Linked DNA regions of Homo sapiens: region 2 is linked to region 1. The links are contacts of gene promoters, found by promoter capture Hi-C in human tissues and cell types (Jung and others, 2019). All regions are on one chromosome and are shown on one strand. Each heading gives the region's core, a stretch centred on a gene start or on the middle of the fragment in contact. The rest is flanking DNA. Distances are from core to core; before and after follow the strand shown.

What was found. The method cuts DNA at HindIII sites, captures the fragments that hold promoters and counts their contacts. A contact is called where the count stands out against the background at its distance.
Region 2: a contact is called between a fragment that was not itself captured here and the fragment with the promoter of KCNK15 in region 1, in 2 of the 25 tissues and cell types used here (H1 embryonic stem cells and psoas muscle).

The regions. Positions count from the first base shown.
Region 1 is chr20:44,744,324-44,747,615 of GRCh38, forward strand. It overlaps KCNK15 (potassium two pore domain channel subfamily K member 15), which reads left to right and starts at 1,542. Exons shown (of 2, transcript NM_022358.4): 1 at 1,542-1,870. The coding sequence starts at 1,588. KCNK15-AS1 (KCNK15 and WISP2 antisense RNA 1) reads right to left here and starts at 1,904. Exons shown (of 5, transcript NR_132377.1): 1 at 1,642-1,904. The HindIII fragment of the contact is 14,439 bases long and covers 1-3,292 here.
Region 2 is chr20:44,779,416-44,782,707 of GRCh38, forward strand. The region is part of intron 1 of RIMS4 (regulating synaptic membrane exocytosis 4); the gene reads right to left. Among named protein-coding and RNA genes, the nearest start is that of RIMS4, 29 kb to the right of the region's middle. The HindIII fragment of the contact is 7,758 bases long and covers 1-3,292 here.

The DNA.
Region 1 (3,292 bases), core at 292-2,791:
ACACAGGTCTCACTGGGCTCAAATCAAGGTATTGGCAGGACTGAGTTCCTTTCTAGCGGCTTCCATATGGAAGTATGTCCTCCTCTGGGACCTGGAGGGCCTAGGCGGCAGGCTGGGCCTCAGGGGCTTAACATACGTCAGCGACTTAATACAACAGAAGCTCAAAACTGGGGCTCCTGATTGGGGGTTGGGGGACAACCTTGCAATGTGTCATTCAGCCCCAGGTTTTTCCCACCTTGTGGGCTCCCTCTCTTCTAAAGACTTTAGTTCTCTGCATTCAGCCGTCTGGTGGGGGAAAGAGATGGAGCACGTGTAGGGCAGGGTTTTATGGGCCAGGCCTGGAAGTGGCATATGTCACTTCTGCCCATGTTCCATGAGCTAAAGCTTGGTCACATAGACCCTGCTAAGTGCAAGAAAGGCTGGGCAATGTGGCCAGCTGGGCGCCCAACTCCACCTCCCCGGTGCATCCCGGATCCCCTCATTTCTCTCCATCTTCACACATTTGGACTACACTAGCCTTCGAACTGGCCTCCACTCCTAGCCACCATCCCTTTTCCCCATGACAGCCAGGGGCTCTTTAAAAAATATGAATCAGATCATTGTGGTGGTGTTGCGTGTGTGTTTGTTTGCCTGTGTTTGTAATACAGCCTTTCCATGGCTTTCAATAAACCCACATAAGGGCTTGTAAGACCCTGTGTGAAGTTGCCTCTTTGCCTTCCTTCTGCTCCCCCAAAGTATCTGCCCCCCAGTTCTCTGGGCTCCAGCGACACCGGCTCCTCTGCTATTCTGGCTGCCAAGTCATGCTCAGTTCTGTTTTAAGCACCACCTTAGATGGTGGGGTTCACCTTCCCCAAGAAACTATCCCTTTTCCTTCTTTCTCACTCCTGTCTTAAATTAGTTTCTTGTTTGTTAGCTGGCCCTCCTCACTAGGATATCACTTTTACTTACAACAGGAATGTTGTTTGCACCAGTAGGTGCTTGGTAAATATTTGTCAGAGGATTGACTGACTGAATGAAAGAAGGAAGGAAGGAGAGAAGGAAGGGAAGAAGAGATGAAGGGACGAAGGGAGGAAGGGAGGGACGGAGGGAGGAAGGGAGGGACGGAGGGAGGAAGGGAGGGACGGAGGGAGGAAGGATGGGAGGGAAGAAGGGAGGGAGGGATGGGGAAAGGAGTGAAAGGAAGGAAGGAAGGAAAGGAGGGAGGGAGGGAGGAAGGGAGGGGAGGGGGGAGGGGAGGGAGGGAAAAAGGAAGGAAGGAAGGACGGAAGGAAGGACGGAAGACTGGCACGAGGTCACAACATGAGTTAGTGGCGGGAACAGGACTTCTGCAGGCCCGGGGTTTGGGCCTTTGCTTCAGATCTCACTATTCACAGACACATGAACCCCGGGCAGGCGAGTGGGAGGCGGACAGGGGAGCGGTTCTTCCGGCCCCCACCCGTGGCGATCCCAGCCTCCAGGTTCCCGGCAGTCGCCCCGCCTCGCCCGTCACAACCCTGCCGCGTGGGGCCGGGGTTGGAGGGGGCGGAGCGCGCGGTCCGGGCACACGGAGCAGGTTGGGACCGCGGCGGGTACCGGGGCCGGGGCGCCATGCGGAGGCCGAGCGTGCGCGCGGCCGGGCTGGTCCTGTGCACCCTGTGTTACCTGCTGGTGGGCGCTGCTGTCTTCGACGCGCTCGAGTCCGAGGCGGAAAGCGGCCGCCAGCGACTGCTGGTCCAGAAGCGGGGCGCTCTCCGGAGGAAGTTCGGCTTCTCGGCCGAGGACTACCGCGAGCTGGAGCGCCTGGCGCTCCAGGCTGAGCCCCACCGCGCCGGCCGCCAGTGGAAGTTCCCCGGCTCCTTCTACTTCGCCATCACCGTCATCACTACCATCGGTGAGCCGCCCGGAGCCTCCCTCCGCGCCCGCTCCAGCCCCAGCCGTCCCGGGGCGCCTCTGGGTTTCGGTCCCACCTCTGCCCCCGCCCAGCTGAGCTACTTTGGACGGGTCATTTCGGCTCACCGAGCCTCCCTCATCTCCTTCGCCTCCCTCGTCTCCCTGGTCTCCTTTGCCCCCCTCTGCTGAATGGAGCTGTCAGCCCACGCAGGCAGGGACGGGAGGAATCAGTAAATCGAGTTTGCCAAAAGGCTGACCCAGGAGTGCTCAGAAAACGTCCAAGGGGCTTGGAGATAGGTGAAGCGGGGCTGGGAGACCAAGTGGCTGGATTTGCTTTTCCTTGCCTGGTTGCCTCACACTTGCTGTGTGACCTTAGACGAGTTGCTCAACCTCTCTGAGCCAGAGTTTTCTCTTCTGTAAAATAGTGTCGCTAATCGGCCTTATCTCAGGGCTGTGGTGAGAGTTATTATTCAGGAGACAGACTATGCACAGACAAGGCCTGTGCTAAAACATGACACATACAGAGCACTACAAAGAAAAGATCATTTTTTTATTATTGCAATTGTTATTGTTACCCCATGAGAATGGGGACCCAGTCTGTCTTAGGGACTGCTGTATGACCCGTGCCTAGCATGCAGTAGATGATCAATAAATACTTGTTAAAGGAATGACTGATAACCACAGGCTCTGGACTCTGCCCTCAGGGATGCAGAGCAGTTCCTTTGGAGCATCTGGACCACCAGCTGTTGCCATGACTACCATCTGGCTGGTACCTGCTGAGCCTAAACCTGGGGGAACAGGAAGGAGAGAAGTGGGCTCTGCAGGGCTCCAGGCTTGGTGCCAGCCACTCCCCAGGCTCCAGCTGTGAACGTCCCGGCACCCCCCCTGGGGCTTGGATCACCAGTCCGAAAGCCAGTGCCTTGGAGAAAGTTTCCCCATAATGCTCTTGCAAGTGAATATGAGCTGTGGTTTTTGCAGTGGAGTTAAAAGTATGAGTTCTGGAATCACAGAGACTGGAGTTCTGGTCTCATCTCTATTGCCACCTGCCTTCTCTGGCAATTGATTCCACCTGTCCAAGCCCTGGTTTCCCCAAAGGCAAAATGCAATTGTTCCTACCTCACTGGGTGACTGCCAGGTTTCAGTGAGGTCAAGCATGTAACATGCTTGGCACAGTGCCTGAAGCCAAGTAGGCACTATTCATTTGTAATAATTCATTATTTGCCAACGTGGCTCCAGCTCTTATTCAGCTCTTTTGCCCCCTCCTGTCCACATGGACACCCCTGCTTCCTATCTTGGTACACCTGAGACCCTCCTGGTTACCGTGCCCACTGGTCTGGGATGCCATCAACTTGTTCTCTCTGCCTTTATCTACATTCTTTGGAGGCTTGCCATGTGGTTTTGGCCTCTTACCCTGGTTCTTTAC
Region 2 (3,292 bases), core at 495-2,994, 35 kb after region 1:
AAAAGTAGCATTACCCTAACTTCTAACAGCACAGACTGGTTTTGCTTATTTTGTAGTTTTCACTACATAAAATCACCTAGTGTATATTCTTTAGCATCTGGCTTCTTTTACCCAACACGACGTTTGTGGGGTTCATCCATGTTGATTGTTTCATTGCAGTTCATTCATTCTCATGACTTATTGTAGTACATTGTGTGAATATATCAAAATAATTTTCATCTATTCTATTGCTGATGAGCATCTGGGTGGGTAGCCTCCAGTAATGAGATATTACAAATAGCTCTGCCAAAAACATTCTTGTATGTGTCTTTTGGTGACCATTTCTGTGCAGTTCTTCAGGGCACATACCTAGGAGTGCAGCTGCTGGGTTACAGGGTATGCATTTGAAATGCCTTTTAGGTGGATTAACCACGGTGTGAACTGGAAAGGTTAACACGTTAGACTATCATTCAGCAGGAAGCAATGTTCTGAAGAAGTGAGGCTAAAGATTGGAAGATTTTGAGGAAAAAGATGGTGGAAAGCCTGTTGATTTACTGTATATCTGGCTCACATTTATATTCCCCAAATGTAATCTTTGTTAAGAGAATGTGTATACAGGGCAAACAGCACCCAGAACAGGACAGGAAGGAGGGGAAAAGGCCTGTAATACAGTTGACATTCAATAAATACTGGCTATTACTATTAACCTCTCTAAAGGTCAATGGTCAACTGCTCACTGATACCACCTCTAGTAAACTCATTATTTCATCGATTCTAAGACAAGCATTTTTTCAACATCTCCAAAATTAAGATGTGAATGGCAACCAGTGGCATGTCAGAGTTAAATTCTGACATGTTTTAGCTCCCTTGGTGGTATATAAAGTTGTGACTTGCAACTGAAGGCCTCTAAAATGCGATTAAGTCCACAGCAAAGAACTGGCGTGTGCAGGAACTGTCCGTGGTGCTGACTGAGCACAGAGGACTGGGCCTGCCTAGGGCAGAGGTGGGGCTCACAAGGGAGATTTTAGAACTACGAAGCATCCCTATCTGTGGTTGTTTTCAAACCACAATTCCTTCCCACTGGCTTGCTGGTGCCTGAAATTCCACCCTCAAAGAATCATCTTCCCACATAAAGACAGGAATTTCCATTTATCGAGTTGAACCAGAGCCTATGAGAGGTGCTCAGCACTCATCATTTCATGTAATCTTCACAACCACCAGTGAAGGTAAGTATTGTCTTCATTTTCAGAAGGGAAAGCTGAAGCTCAGGGGTTAATGAACCTGCCCATAATTACAAAGCTGGCATGTGGGATGTGATCCTGGTTCAACGCAGGCCAGAGTGCAATTTTTGCCCTTTACGCTGCTCTACACTGGAGGGAGGGATAAGTGCCTCAGACCTTTTTCCAAGAGGATTTGAAGAGGAAAGAGGAGAGATCATAAAGACACAGAGATGAAGTGAGTGAAAGCAAGAGGGGCAAAAGGCACATGATAAGGATTTGAGAACCCTAGAGAGGGAGGGGAAAGATTTTGTGAGAATCAACTGGGTAATAAATATGGAATGTGCTTTGTAACTCTAAAGGGTTATGCCCCTGGAAGGAAACGTTACTCTCACTTATCCAACAAAATATACATTTATTGAGTTCATTTCCTATGCCATGCTGTTCTTGTCTCTGGGGATTTGAATAAGATACAGTCTTTGACCTTAAGAAACTTACAGGTAGTAGAGTGTGGGGGGGACATGAAACAGATAAGTAATTATTATTCATTCAACACACTCTTTACTAATTGCCTATTCAGGGCCAGATCCTGTGCGGTAGACTCATAACATAGATGAATTAAACCCAGACCTTGCTGAAACTCCCAGTCTACCAGAATAGATAGGCAAGTAAAGGGGCAATTGTGCAATAATTACAACGTAGCATAATGTAAGGGCAGAGATATACACAGAGTATTATGGGAGCTGAGGAGAAGGGTAATTAATGCAGCACTGGAGTTAGAGGCACGGTCTGGGTTGTAAGCAGAATTGATTCAATGCTGAATTATACTTGATTGCAAATAAAATCAGAAGATTTCATTGTACATGCAAGCACTACCTTCCAGTACAACTGAAGGTTATACTGACAAATAAAAACATGGAGATAGAGTGAAGAGGAAAATGTGGAACCAAATGAAAACTGAAGGCAAAAAGTTCCAGATGCAGAGTAAATGCATTTGGGGTTGGGGAGGTCCTATGCTGAGCAGGGGTGGTCAGGGGAAAGTCATTTACTCTCCTCGAGCCAATGTGGAAAGACTTTCTAAAGAAGAGGCATTTCCACAATCATTGGAAGGAAGACAATTCACAGTCCCACAAAAAGCTGTTTTTCCTCAGGAAGCTATTTCCATCAGCATTTGGGACAAGCTAAACAAGCCTTGGAAGGAACTGGGTTGTGGGCAAAAGGTAGAGTCTATGGCCCCATATGGCACTGGGAAGCTACACAATCCACACAGCATTCAAGACTTCCAGGATTTGCCCCAAACCTATACTACAAGTCTGCCATGATGCACATACCAGGTGTTCTATCCACACGGAATTACTCATCATTCACCAAATACAGCCCACGTACTTCCGTCTTCTTAGGAGAACAGGCTCTGGAGCCAGAAAAACTGAGTTTGGGACTTGAAGCATGCCTCTGCCACTTTCTGAGTAAACTAAATAAACTTACTGAACTAATCTGAGTCTAAGTTCCCCTGCAAAACAGGAAAAATGATAGAATCCACTCCACCTATTGTTGTAAGGATTAAATGTACTAGTAAGCTCTTATTAGGTTATGCTGCAATAACAAGTTACCCCCAAATTTCAGTGGCTTACAGAACAAAGTTCTTGTTCATACTTAACATACCTTATTTTTCTGAGATGGACTTTTGCTCTGTGGCCTATACTGGAGTGCAGTGGCACAACCTTGGCTCACTGCAACCCGTCTCCCAGGTTCAAGTGATTCTCCTGCCTTAGCCTCCCAAGTAGCTGGGGTTACATGCATGCACCACCATGCCTGGCTAATTTTTTTTTTCCTTTTTGTATTTTTAGTAGAGATGGGGTTTCACCATGTTGGCCAGTTTGGTCTCAAACTCCTAACCTCAAATGATCTGCCTGCCTCAGCCTCCCAAAAGTGCTGGGATTACAGGCATGAACCACCATGCCCAGCCATACTTAACATACTTTACGAGTTAGCTATGGTTCTATCCCACGAACTCATCTGGGACCCAGGGTGAAGGGGCAGGCCCTATCTGGGACAAGCTGGTCTCATGGCAGAGGAATGATGGAACCATGAGGGAA